2 separate regions of the Homo sapiens genome follow, and region 1 is linked to region 2. Evidence: promoter capture Hi-C in human tissues and cell types (Jung and others, 2019). All regions are on one chromosome and are shown on one strand. The core of a region is centred on a gene start or on the middle of the fragment in contact, and the rest is flanking DNA. Distances in the headings are between cores, read along the strand shown. Region 1 overlaps LINC02689 (long intergenic non-protein coding RNA 2689). Region 2 holds the start of KRTAP5-1 (keratin associated protein 5-1).

The links. Contacts are between HindIII fragments. The study calls those that stand out against the background at their distance.
Region 1: a contact is called between a fragment that was not itself captured here and the fragment with the promoter of KRTAP5-1 in region 2, in 3 of the 25 tissues and cell types used here (small bowel, spleen and thymus).

What each region holds. Positions count from the first base shown.
Region 1 is chr11:1,359,605-1,366,196 of GRCh38, forward strand. It overlaps LINC02689 (long intergenic non-protein coding RNA 2689), which reads left to right. Exons shown (of 5, transcript XR_930972.2): 2 at 1,111-1,204; 3 at 3,074-3,243; 4 at 3,350-3,413; 5 at 3,957-5,594. Among named protein-coding and RNA genes, the nearest start is that of LINC02689, 13 kb to the left of the region's middle. RefSeq lists enhancers at 1-132, 133-632. The HindIII fragment of the contact is 4,928 bases long and covers 107-5,034 here.
Region 2 is chr11:1,580,249-1,586,941 of GRCh38, forward strand. It overlaps KRTAP5-1 (keratin associated protein 5-1), which reads right to left and starts at 5,035. Exons shown (of 1, transcript NM_001005922.1): 1 at 4,094-5,035. The coding sequence starts at 5,001. The coding sequence ends at 4,165. All of the region lies in intron 1 of KRTAP5-AS1 (KRTAP5-1/KRTAP5-2 antisense RNA 1), which reads left to right. The HindIII fragment of the contact is 15,838 bases long and covers 1-6,693 here.

The DNA of each region.
Region 1 (6,592 bases), core at 1,321-3,820, 220 kb before region 2:
GAGCCGTCCTGACTGTCCTTGGCCGCCTGAGCCCGCTGCCCCAGCAGGAGGTCTACTGCTCTGGTGGCAAGAGGACTCCTGGGCCTGTGGCTGTCCAGGCGTCCCCTTCAGGGGAAGCGTGTGTGTGACGTGAATACTCCGCACCACCTCAGCACCTGCAAAACCCAGACGTGCTGACGCGGGGAGCATGGGCTTAGCCGGTGCGTCACTAGGGCCATGGTGCAGGGAACCACCCTGGGCCTACGTGTCCCGGCTCTGGGAGAACATCACACATGGACCTGGCCCACCTTGTGGGACCACACCCTCCAGAGGCCTCGTCCTGTAGACAGCTGTCACACATTGTCACACAAGTGAGCCTTCAACAGCCCATGATGGGGGTGACGTGGCCCAGGTACAGCAAGGGAACGCATGGGCCTGAGCCCTTTCTCTCCCTTTCCTCTGTGGAATGGGGCCCTGGGTCGCAGCTAATGCTTTGTGGAGGACCATGACAGCTGCTCAGACTCTGCATGTGGTGTCGGCAGAAGTGCCATGACCAGGGACAGAAACTCATGTCCAGAGGAAGCGTCTATTCCAACCGGGACACATCGTTGCACCCTCCCTGATGGAGGGGTCCAGTGAAACCAACCTCCCCCCGTGACCGGCTCATCCCGTGGGGAACAGTGCAGTTTCAGGCCCACAGCTCTGGCTCTCTGCTGTTGGTTGTTGGGCTTTTGGCCGTGGTGGGGGGCCCATGTCTGAGGCTGGGCGCAGCTTCCATGCTCACTGCTGTGGGCACTGCCCAGGAGCCATCAAGCATGCCTGGGGTGGCTGGTGACATCCCCAAAACAAGCCGTGTGTTCAGCTGGCTGTGATGAGCCTCCTCCGTGGACACGCAAATATCCCCACGTCCTGTGCCCCTCTGGAAAGGTTCGTCCACAAGTCTCTCCCCAGCCTCCTTGTCATCAACCTTTCAAACAGATGGCTTCCAAGTCCCGGACCATCCGGCAAACCGTTAGCCACATCCCCTGAAGAGGTCTGGTCCTGTCCTCTTGTCCAGGCACAGGACACAGCCAGTGAGGCCGCCCCAAGCGCTGCTCGCTAGGACGACGCCCCTGTCCTGCCTCCCTACAGGGCCATCCCCAGATGAGGCTGCAGCATTGCCCCGTGTGCTCTCAGCTGGTGCCAGTGTTGTCTGGAACTGTCTGGACCTACCTGGAAACTGAGTGTGAGTGTTTGATTCCTCACTCCCCTGGTGGCTGGGAATTGCCCTGGAAGGCACTGGTGCTTGTGGAGGGAGAAATGGCAATGTCTGGGTGTGGGTGCTGTGGGCCTGGGTGCTGTGGACGTGGGTGCTGTGCACGTGGGTGCTGTGGGCCTGGGTGCCGTGGGCCTGGGTGCCGTGGACGTGGGTGCATGGCACAGATGGGCGGCCACCTGAACGAGTGGGAGGAGTGCAGTCCCAGGCCCTCCCAGAGACTGTGCCATAGTCTCCACCCCAAGTGACGGTGGAGGGATGCTGGGAACGGTAAGCTTTAATGCTTGGTGAATCTTGCATTGCCTCATTCATGACCGGTAGGTCACGTGGTCATCTGACACTTCCATCTCTTCCGAGGCCCAGTGGAAAGCCAGGAGCTGGGTCTCCAAAGGAAAATGGTTACTTTCAGAAGAGGGCATGATTTTTCTCCAAAACGCTGGGTGGCTGAGCTGGGATTCTTCTGAAGGGTTTGTCGGAAGCTCCACACGGCATCCCTGTCTGACACGGACCTGTTGTCACCGTCTGATTTGCTGAGACACGCGTGCAGAGGTGCCTGATGGCAGCCTGGACCTGCTACAGAGCCTTCTGCTGCTGTAGGCCCCTTCAAAACTGACAGCCTCGGAGGCTTCCATATGGTCGAAGCAGCCTGCTTCAATATGGTGCATGAGCTCTCTGGGGTCTAAAAAGGCCTACCAAGCAGCATTGTGCCACCTTCTTAGTGCAAAGAACAGGAAGTTGGGTCAAGTATCTTATTATTATTATTATTAATCATTATTGTTGAGACAAGGTCTCACTCTGTTGCCCAGGCTGGAGTGTGGTGGTGCCATCACAGCTCACTGCAGCCTTGAACTCCTGGGCTCAAGCGATCCTCCTGCCATGGCCTCCCAGAGTGCTGGGATGACAGGTGTGAGCCCATGCCTGGCTGGGGGCACATATCTTCATATATCCCAGACCACAGGATGTCTAGAAATTTCACTGAAATGACAGAATCCTTCATTTTGTGAGGTGCGTCTCCTACTATGGAGGCACGAAAGGGCCTTACTAAGACAGTTAGAGTATTTACTACTTCCTGCCACCAGGTCTGATCTCCATTACACCATCGGCATAGTGAACTGGCACTTTGTCCCATGGGATGGCCAGGACTGAGATGGTCAAGGGCCCTGAGGTCTATATTTTGACAAAGGGATGGACGATGGGCACAGTTCTGAGAAGCACGAGCCGGGGTGTATTGCTGTCCCTGCCAGGTGAAAGTAGCCTTCCCCTGTGGCTCAGCTGTTGTGTGTGGAAGGAAACGTTGGTCAGATGAGTTTCCTCATGGAAGCCATGGCTGGGTGTTCCATCACACGAGGTACATCTGGAGGGGCAGATGCAATTGGAGTCCCCACCCGATTGTGTTTGCAGCCATCCACAGTCACTCTCCAAAATCCACCTCTGTCCTTCACAGGCCAAAGAGGTGAAGCAAAACGATGTGATAGGAAGCTGAGATATCGGCTGGGCACAGTGGCTCACACCTGTAATCCCAGCACTTTGGGAGGCTGAGGCGGGTGGATCACCTGAGGTTGGGAGTTTGAGACCAGCCTGGTCAACATGGTGAAACCCTGTCTCTACTAAAAATACAAAATTAGCCGGGCATGGTGGCGCACGCCTGCAGTCACAGCTACTCGGGAGGCTGAGACAGGAGAATTGTTTGAACCTGGGGGACAGAGGCTGCGATGAGCCAAGATCACACCACTGCACTCCAGCCTGGGCGACAGAGCAAGACTCTGTCTCAAACAAACAAACAAAAAAAGAGGAATCCAGGATACCGTTGCCAGTATGCACTGTAAATCTTTCTCCTAGATTTCTCTGAAGAAGTCTGCAGCCCTTTGGCAGCGTGGCTGCAGATGGAAGGAAGGAAACAGTTCGCCCTGGAGAATGGCTAGGCAGCACCTCTGAGCCGAGCATCCCACCCGCTCTGACTGGCCCACAATCGTGGGGCCAGTGGTATCTCAGAGCCCTTCTGTAAGGAGGTCTGGTCCCCCGGCATTCAGGGGTTCTGAGCTGCTCAGTTCTGGGATATGGGGAAAAGCCAGGATTCTCCACCATGCTGGCTGACGCCATTTCTCTGTTCACCAGACCTACAGGGTTTTGTCACTTACAGTGATTGCCATGGTCTGAATGCTTGTGTCCTCCTCGAAAGGTAGGTATTGAAACCTAATCACCAAGGTGATGGTGTTGGGAGGTGGGACCTTCAAGAGGTGGCAAGGTCATGGGGGCAGAGCCCTCATAAATGGATTGGTGCCCTTATGAAAGGGGCCCATGGGAGCCTTGTTTGCCCCATGTACGGGTGCAGCCGGAAGTTGCTGTCTGAGAGGAAACTGGCCTCCACCAAACACAGCTGGCACCTTGGTCTTGCACTTCCAGCCTCCAGAACTGTGAGACATGTTTCTGTCATTTATAAGCCACCCAGATCTTTAATGATATTTTTGTTATGGTAGCCCAAACAGACTAAGACAGAGACCAGAGAACACTTTGGCAGGCTACTTACGTGTTTTAGTCCTGGGGACACTTCAATCAGTTAGACATTCCCCAAAGTCCTACAGGGTGAAGGACACAGTTGCTGCCCTGGCCCTGTCACCCATTGAGACCAGGACACCCCATTGTGCTGGAGCTGCTACCTGGTTGCCAACACTCAGGCAGCCTGTTCAATGAGAGCAACTTGCACCACTATCTTGGTCCACAGAGCCTTCCAAGATGCGGTGCCCTCCATCAGCATATTGCCACGCCTTTCTCTCCCAGGATGCATTGCTGGGATGGATGAACAGGGCCATGCGATAAATCCTCTAACGTTGCCACGTCTGTGCTTTTGCCTCCTTTCCTCTCCGTTGTATGGAGGAAGTTCTGACAGCTCACTTCATTTCACGTGGTGTGCAAGCTTCTGTCAAACAACGGAACAAACTATGAGAACCACTTCCAGCCACTGCTTCTGCACACTTCTCTGCTAAGTGAGTCTCTGCTGTGTGAGTCTCATTGGTAAAACTACCCTGATCTAACATTCTGTTACCTCCTTTGTGGTCCAACACTCCAAGAGTCCACGGCCTCAGACGCCCCTGGGTTTCTGCTGATGTAAATTGGCAAAAACTTGCATTCAGTGTGTATGTGGCTCCTCTTGGGTCTCACTGTGTGTTTATCCCTCTGCACCCAACTCTAGTCATGGCTCTGGGAATAATGAGGGTCGGTGGAGGTGGATCTCAAGGGAGATCTGTCATCTTGCAAGGCTGTTTCCTCAAGTGAAGCCATCACAGATCTTTGGGCACAGTTTTACTCACCTCAGACTCTAAGGAAGAGTCACTTCTGCTTACAGGGAGACTCAGGAAGGTCTAATGTTCAGGGGACTCAGAGTCAGAGAAATCCACCCTCTCCAGTTCTCGAGGTCTCATTCTTTCCAAATAAATGCCTTAACTTTGACTTAAGAGATTTAGTAAGACATTTAATTATTCTTTAGTTGTAATTCATTAGCCTGCAAGATCAAATTTGTACTCTGCATTTAAAAAAAAAAGTTGACTCTACAGCTACAAGAACTAAAATGGTTTTTTTAGGACAGCTATAGAAGGGCTCTGGTTCTCTGTCTATACCTTCAGCTGAGCACTTAAGGCCACAGCTTGTCATTTTCTTTGTCAGTTCCCCAGTGCAATAAGCAGCAGCCACCCCATGCCACATCCTTGTATGCATGGTTTCCATCCACATCCTAATGTCCTATTGCAAGAGCCCCCTGGTGTCTGAAACCCAGGCTTGTGATGGGCACTGCATCGCAGAGACCTCAAGGTAATGATTTTACCAGTGACAATGTTTATAGATTATCTGCATCCTGCTTCCCACTCCTCACGTGGTCCTCACTGACATCAGACAAAACCTGGTCTGTCCAATTACTAACTCCAGATTCCCATCTTCAAGGTTCTGCCTTCCTGGAAACACTGCTGGTACCAGGAATGGTTGGTCGGGAACACTAAAGTCACTCTAGGTATTTTGGGTAGAAGGAGATTCATTGCAGGGAACTCTAGGCTTACAGAAATGTTGAGAACTTTGGGGACTGAAGGTTATTTCAGGAGATCTGGAAGTGCAGGGATAGAAGGGTAGCATCCATTGCCCCCTGATAACTGTACCACTGACATGGCTAGAAACCACCCCAGTGATCCCAGCTGCTTGTAGCACCTCAGGGTGATTCTCAAACTGACTCCAGAAGCCAAGGTACACTGCTGCCAATGACTGCAGGGGCCTCTGCAAAACGGACGTTGATGAATGAAACAAAGTGTGATCTACCCATAGCAGGGAATGTTATTCATCCTTAAAAAGGAAGGAAATCCTGCAGCTCACGCCTGTCATCCCAGCTCTTTGGGAAGCTGAGGCAGGAGAATGGCTTGAGGCCAGGAGTTTGAGACCAGCCTGGGCAACATAATGAGACCCCCGTCTCTACAAAAAACAATTTAAAAAATTTGCTGTAGTCCCCGCTACCCAGGAGACTGAAGCAGGAGGATAGCTTGAGCCCAGGAAGTTGAGGCTGCAGTGAGCTATGATCTCTCCTGTCTCTAAAAAAGAAAAAAAATAAAAGGAAAGAAATTAATTCTCACACAGGCTACAAAATGGATGAACCTTGAGGACATTATGCTGAATCAAAGAAGCCATTCAGCAAAGGATAAATCCTATAAGCTTCCCCGTATATGAGGAACCCAGAGCAGTGAAATCCCCAGTGACAGGAAGTGGATGGTGGGCACCAGGGGCTGGCAGAGAGGATGGGAGTCAGTCTTCCATGGGGACAGGGACAGCTTCAGTTTGGGAAGCTGAAGAAGTTCTGGAGATGATGATGGTGGTGACAAGTGCACACCAACGTGAATGTATCAGGGACAGCTTCAGTTTGGGAACTTGAAGAAGTTCTGGAGATGACGATGGTGGTGACAGGTGCATACCAACGTGAATGTATCAGGGACAGCTTCGGTTTGGGAAGCTGAAGAAGTTCTGGAGATGATGATGGTGGTGACAGGTGCACACCAATGTGAATGTATCAGGGACAGCTTCGGTTTGGGAAGCTGAAGAAGTTCTGGAGATGATGATGGTGGTGACAGGTGCACACCAACGTGACTGTATCAGGGACAGCTTCAGTTTGGGAAGTTGAAGAAGTTCTGGAGATAATGATGGTGGTGACAGGTGCACACCAACATGAATGTATCAGGGACAGCTTTGGTTTGGGAAGCTGAAGAAGTTCTGGAGATGATGATGGTGGTGACAGGTGCACACCAACGTGAATGTATCAGGGACAGCTTCGGTTTGGGAAGCTGAAGAAGTTCTGGAGATGATGATGGTGGTGACAGGTGCACAGCAATG
Region 2 (6,693 bases), core at 3,785-6,284:
GCTCACTACAACCTCTGCCTCCCAGGTTCAAGCAATTCTCTTGTCTCAGCCTCCGAAGTAGCTGGGATTACAGGTGCCCACCACCATGCCCAGCTACTTTTTTTTTTGTTTTTTTTTTGAGATAGAGTCTTGCTCTTGTTGCCCAGGCTGGAGTGCAGTGGTGCGATCTCGGCGCACTGCAACCTCCACATCCCGGGTTCAAGCGATTCTCCTGCTTCACCCTCCTGAGTAGCTGGGACTACAGGCGCATGCCACTACACCCGGCTAATATTTTGTATTTTTAGTTGAGACAGGATTTTACCATGTTGGCCAGGCTGGTCTCGATTTCCTGACCTGTGATCTGCCTGCCTCGGCCTCCCAAAGTGCTGAGATTACAGGCGTGAGCCACTGTGCCCAGCCCTTGGCTACTTTTTATATTTTTAGTACAGACAGGGTTTCATCATGTCGGCCAGTCTGGTCTTGAACTCCTGACCTTGTGATACACTCACCTCGGCCTCGCAAAGTGCTGGGATTACAGGCGTGAGCCACCGTGCCTGGCCCTTGGCTACTTTTTATATTTTTAGTAGAGATGGGGTTTCACCATGTTGGCCAGTCTGGTCTCGAACTCCTGACCTCAGGTGATCCGCCCTCCTCGGCCTCCCAAAGCACTGGGATTACAAGCGTGAGCCACTGTGCCTGGCCCAATCATAGTTATTTTAAAGCCCTTGTTTCCTAACTCCAATATGTGGCTTATCTGTAATCTGCTTCTTCTGTTAGCTTTCCGCATGATTATTGATCACTGTTTCCTGCTGTGTCCTGTATCTCGTGCTTTCTGTCAGAGGTATGCCTCAAAGGACCGTGGGGGTCCATATCTAGGGACCGTGGGGGGTCCATATGTCGGGACCGTGGGGGTGTCTATATCTCGGGACCGTGGGGGTCCATATCTAAGGACCGTGGGGGTCCATATCTTGGGACCATGGGGGGTCTATATGTCAGGACCGTGGGGGTCTATATCTAAGGACCGTGGGGTTCTGTATCTCAGGACCGTGGGGGTCCATATCTAGGGACCGTGGGGGTCCATATCTAGGGACCGTGGGGGGTCCATATGTCGGGACCGTGGGGGTGTCTATATCTCGGGACCGTGGGGGTCCATATCTAAGGACTGTGGGGGTCCATATCTTGGGACCATGGGGGGTCTATATGTCAGGACCGTGGGGGTCTATATCTAAGGACCGTGGGGTTCTGTATCTCAGGACCGTGGGGGTCTGTATCTAGGGACCGTGGGGATCTGTATCTAGGGACCGTGCGGATCTGTATCTAGGGACTGTGGGAGTCTATATCTAAGGACCGTGGGGTCTATATCTAGGGACCGTGGGGGTCCATATCTCAGGACCGTGGGGATCTGTATCTCAGGACCGTGGGGGTCTGTATCTCGGGACCGTGGGAGTCTATATCTAGGGACTGTGGGAGTCTATATCTAAGGACCGTGGCGTCCATATCTAGGGACCATGGGGGTCCATATGTCGGGACCGTGGGGGGTCTATATCTCGGGACCGTGGGGGTCCATATCTAAGGACCATATGTCGGGACCGTGGGGTTCTGTATCTCAGGACCGTGGGGGTCTGTATCTAGGGACCGTAGGGATCTGTGTCTAGGGACCGTGGGGGTCTATATCTAGGGACTGTGGGAGTCTATATCTAAGGACTGTGGCGGTCTGTATCTCGGGACCGTGGGGGTCTATATCTCAGGACCGTGGGGCTCCATATCTCAGGACCATGGGGGTCTGTATCTAAGGACCGTGGAGGTCTATATCTCGGGACCGTGGGGGTCTCCATCTAAGGACTGTGGGGGTCTAGCTGCTCTCTTCCAACAGTGAGCACGTGGCCTCCCTCTCTAGTGCAGACAGGGAGAGGAGCTGAACATTTCGTCTACCCGCTCAGTTAGGGATTGGGCCACTTCAGTCAATCGTCCCTCTGTGTGGCTTTCCTGGAGTTTTGGTTAAGAGCCTGGCCAGTCCGTGTCTTCTTATCCCTGACAGGCTGTCAGAGAGTCACTTCTTTCCCTGAGGTACAGGCTTAGCTCTTTAGTTGTCTGCTCAGGCAGCTTCAAAATTTGGAAAATGTCTTAAGGGCCAGATTAACCTGTGCCTGGGGCAGGACCCCTTCCTCTAGAAAAGCTCTGTGTACTAAGCTCCACAAGGCTATGCGAGACTTCAGCGCACCTGCGGAGGCCTCAGGCCTCACTTCTTAGCCTCCCCAGAAATTTGCAAATGTCCCAGTTTTCTGCTCCAGCCCCTGTGGTTGCCAAGAGCCCTGCTGGGTATTTCTCCCAGTAGAATTCCTCTTCCCCAGTGGGACCGAGGCTCAGCTCATACCCAGCACTGGTTAATTCCTTAAAGGGAGAGAAGCCGACATTCAGCTCATCTTGGAAGGGCTCTCTCTGAATGTTTTCATCTGGTTCTTGTTGCTTCTACAGTTCTCCAATGTCTTTTTTATAGATACATTTTTCCGGTATTTCAAAATTGTGGGCCGGATGCAGTGGCTGACGCCTATAATCCCAGCACTTTGGGAGGGTGAGGCAGGTAGATCACTTGAGGTCAGGAGTTTGAGACCAGCCTGGCCAACATGGTGAAACCCCATCTCTACTAAAAATACAAACAAAACAAAATTAGCTGGGCATGGTGGCTCATGCCTGTAGTCCCAGAAACTCAGGAGGCTGAGGCAGGAGAATAGCTTGAACCCAGGAGGCAGAGGTTGCAGTGAGTGGAGATCACACTACTGCACTCCAGCCTGGGCAACAGAGTGAGACTCCATCTCAGAAAAAAAAAATTGTGGTAAGATACATACGGTAGGATTTCCTGAAGTTATTTATTTATTTATTTATTTATTTATTTATTTATTTATTTTACCATCTGAGTTCTGTAATTAATGTGGCCTTCTCTGGTTGCTGCAATGGGATTGCTGACCTTCCATATACATCCCCTCTGGAATGTCATATTTGCATTCTTCTGGCTTTTTTTGTTTGTTTTTTGTTTTTTTTGAGACGGAATCTTGCTCTGTAGCCCAGGCTGGAGTGCAGTGGCGCGATCTCGGCTCACTGCAGCCTCCGCCTCCCGGGTTCACACCATTCTCCTGCCTCAGTCTCCTGAGTAGCTGGGACTACAGGCGCCTGCCACCATGCCCGGCTAAATTTTTGTATTTTTAGTAGAGAGGGGGGTTTCACCGTGTTAGCCAGGATGGTCTCAATCTCCTGACCTGGTGATCCGCCCCCCTCGGCCTCCCAAAGTGCTGGGATTACAGGCATGAGCCACCGCACCTGGCCGCCGGCATCTTTAATTCAGACTGCCAGCTTCCAGAACCCTGAGAAATACACTTCTGTTGTACATGCCAGTCCATGGTGTTCTGTTACATCAGCCCAAAGAGAATAAGACCGCGTGGTAACAGGCCATGATGACCCCCTAGTGATTGCTTTTGCCTGATCAAGGCAAGGCACCCCCGCCCTGAGCCAGATGCTGAGAGGGTGTGGTAGAGGCTGCACGGCAAGGGGCTGAGCCAGGTGGCTGCTGGTGCTCCTGCCTCTGACCGCCACCATGTATCCAGGATCCCTGCTGGCCAGGGCGCCCACCTGCCTGCTCCGGTTTGGTTCAGGGCCGGTGTGTGTGTGTGTGTGTGTGTGTGTGTGTGTGTGTGTGGTTCCCAGGGGACCCAGTGTAGCCACAGATGCCCCCCACCTGCCTCGAGAGGGAAATAAACATAAATATACCAAGACAGCTATGGGGTGCTGGGGTGAGCGGTTTATTGGATGTTTAAAGGACAGAGATCTGAACTCCTAGTGACTGCAGAGTGAGCAAGCACCCTGGGCTGTCCTGCAGGGCTGTCCGTGCTGGATGTGGTGCCAGCAGGCAGGGCTTGCGGATAGGCATTTGCTGCAGGTGGCTGGGGCGGTGGGGGGCTGGTCTCCAGATGCCTGGAAGGGAGGCCTTGAAAGTCATTCTTCTTGGATGCATGGGCCCATGGCATTTCTTGGTAGAAGGTCAAAGAGAAGTGTTCATGCTTGGCAAGGCAGGAGGGTGGGAGATAGGGTAGTGGGTGGGGAAGGAGAGTCTGGCTCACTGGGTGCCAGGAAAAGGAGGTAAAGGCTGGGCAGGAATGCCTGGCCATGGTAAGAGTCCTGCAAAGCCAGAAATCAGATCTTGCACTGGCAGCACACGGGGACACAGCAACTGGACTGGGAGCAGCAGGGCTTGCAGCAGCTGGATTGGCAACAGGATGACCCACAGCCTGAGGAACAGCAGCAGGGCTTACAGCAACTGCACTGGGAGCAGGATGACCCGCAGCCTCCCTTAGACCCCGCGCAAGAGCCACAACTGGAACAGGAACAGCAACACACGGGCACACCGCAGCCGGAGCCACAGCCCCCACAGCCGGAGCCACAACCCCCCTTGGATCCCCCACAAGAACCGCAGCCCCCCTTGCAGCCTCCACAGGAGCCACAGCCCCCCTTGGAGCCCCCACAAGAACCACAGGCCCCCTTGGAGCACCCACAGGAGCCACAGCCCCCTTTGCCACAGCTGGAGCAGGAACAAGCTGGCACACAGCAGCACATGGGCTTGCAGCAGCAGACAGGCACACAGCAGCTGGAGCCACATCCCCCACAGCCGGAACCACAGCCACCCTTGGATCCCCCACAAGAGCCACAGCCCCCCTTGGAGCCCCCACAGGAGCCACAACCCCCCTTGGATCCCCCACAAGAGCCACAGCCCCCCTTGCAGCCTCCACAGGAGCCACAGCCCCCCTTGGAGCCCCCAGAAGAGCCACAGCCCCCTTTGCCACAGCTGGAGCAGGAACAGGTTGGCACACGGCAGCACACGGGCTTGCAGCAGCAGACGGGCACACAGCAGCTGGAGCCAGAACCTCCACAGCCAGAGCCACAGCCCCCACAGCCGGAGCCACAGCCCCCACAGCCGGAGCCACAGCCCCCACAGCTGGAGCCACAGCCTCCGGAGCAGCCGCAACAGCCCATGGTTCTGGTGGATTGAGGGTGGAGCAGGTAGAGGAGCAGGTGAGAGGGAGGTGCAGGTGTGGAGCTCCCTGAGCCTGGACCCTTTATATCCCTGCCCAGGGTCATGTGTGAGGCTGGGCACACATTTCCTGGTTCCTGTTTGTGCCATTTTTAGGGCCCCTTTTTCTTGTTTCCTCTAGAAATCCGCCCCTTGGTGTATGGGCTGCTCAGTGGGCTGCTGCTCTCTTGCTGAATCTGTGTCCAGACTTAATGGAGGCCCCCAAGGGTCTAGCCTCTCCCTGTTGACTCCAGAGTCACACTGGATTTACAAAAGCATCTATTTTAGGCTGGGCATGGTGGCTCACACCTGTAATCTCAGCACTTTGGGAGGCCTAGGCAGGTGGATCACTTGAGGTGAGGGGTTGGAGACCAGCCTGGCCAAAATGGTGAAATCTCGTGTCTACTAAAAACACAAAAATTAACTGGGTGTGGTGGCTCACATCTGTAATCCCAGCACTTTGGGAGGCCGAGGCAGGTGGATCATTTGAGGTCAGGAGTTGGAGACCAGCCTGCCCAACATGGCAAAACCCCATCTCTACTAAAAATACAAAAATTAGCCAGGCATGGTGGTGCATGCTTGTAACTCCAGCTACTTGGGAGGCTGAGGCAGGAGAATGGCTTGAACCCAGAGGTGAAGGTTGCAGTGAGCAGAGATCACACCACTGCACTCTAGTGTGGGCAACAGAGCGGGACTCTGTCTCAAAAAAAAAAAAAAAGTGATCTATTTTAGTTGAACGATGGTATAAAGAGTAATATATTTAAAAAATGTAAAAAAAAACCCTACTCAACTTGGGAAAAAATGGCATAAATAAATGAAGTCTCTGTTCCTCCATCTCTCCATATTGTTTCTGTCCCACCCTAATAATTTCTTGAATTTGGAATTCACCACTCTCATGAAGGTCCTCACACTCCTACTTAATATGTATGTTCCTTTAAAAATGTTTTGTGGCCAGGCGCGGTGGCTCACACCTGTAATTTCAGCACTTTGGGAGGCTGAGGTGGGCGGATCATTTGAGTCCAGGAGTTTGAGACCAGCCTCACTAACATGGTGAAACCTCGTCTTTACTAAAAATACAAAAATTAACCAGGTATGGTGGCATGTGCCTGTAATCCCAGCTATTCGGGAGGCTGAGGCAGGAGAATCGCTTGAACCTGGGAGGCAGTGGTTGCAGTGAGCTGAAATCACGCCATTGCACTCCAGCCTGGGCAACAGAGTGAGACTCTATCTCAAAAAAAAAAAAAAAAAAAGAAAAGAAAAAAGAAAAAAAAATTTTACATGCTGAAAACTTTATGTAATGGGTATTACACTGTATTTCTCTTTCTGTAAATTGCTTTTGAAAAAAATAGGTGTTAGGCTAAAGAGATTTTCTCTAGGGATACATATGGTTTTAATTTATTTGTTTTCTCTGATTTCTAAATATACATTGACTTATCCATTTACTTGTTGATGGACCTTTTGTTTCCTTTTTGTTGCTATTTCAAGCAAGCTGCAACTTTCTTGCCCAAAACCCCTCCTGCAGGTGTGGGTGCCTGAAAGTCAGGAGGTTCTTGTTACCAAGCTGTCTTCCCAAGGGATCCCCCCAGCCAGCTGCTGTCCAACCAGCATTGCCAGAGAGCTCCTGTTTCCTGGCACCCCCACCAAAACTTGCAACT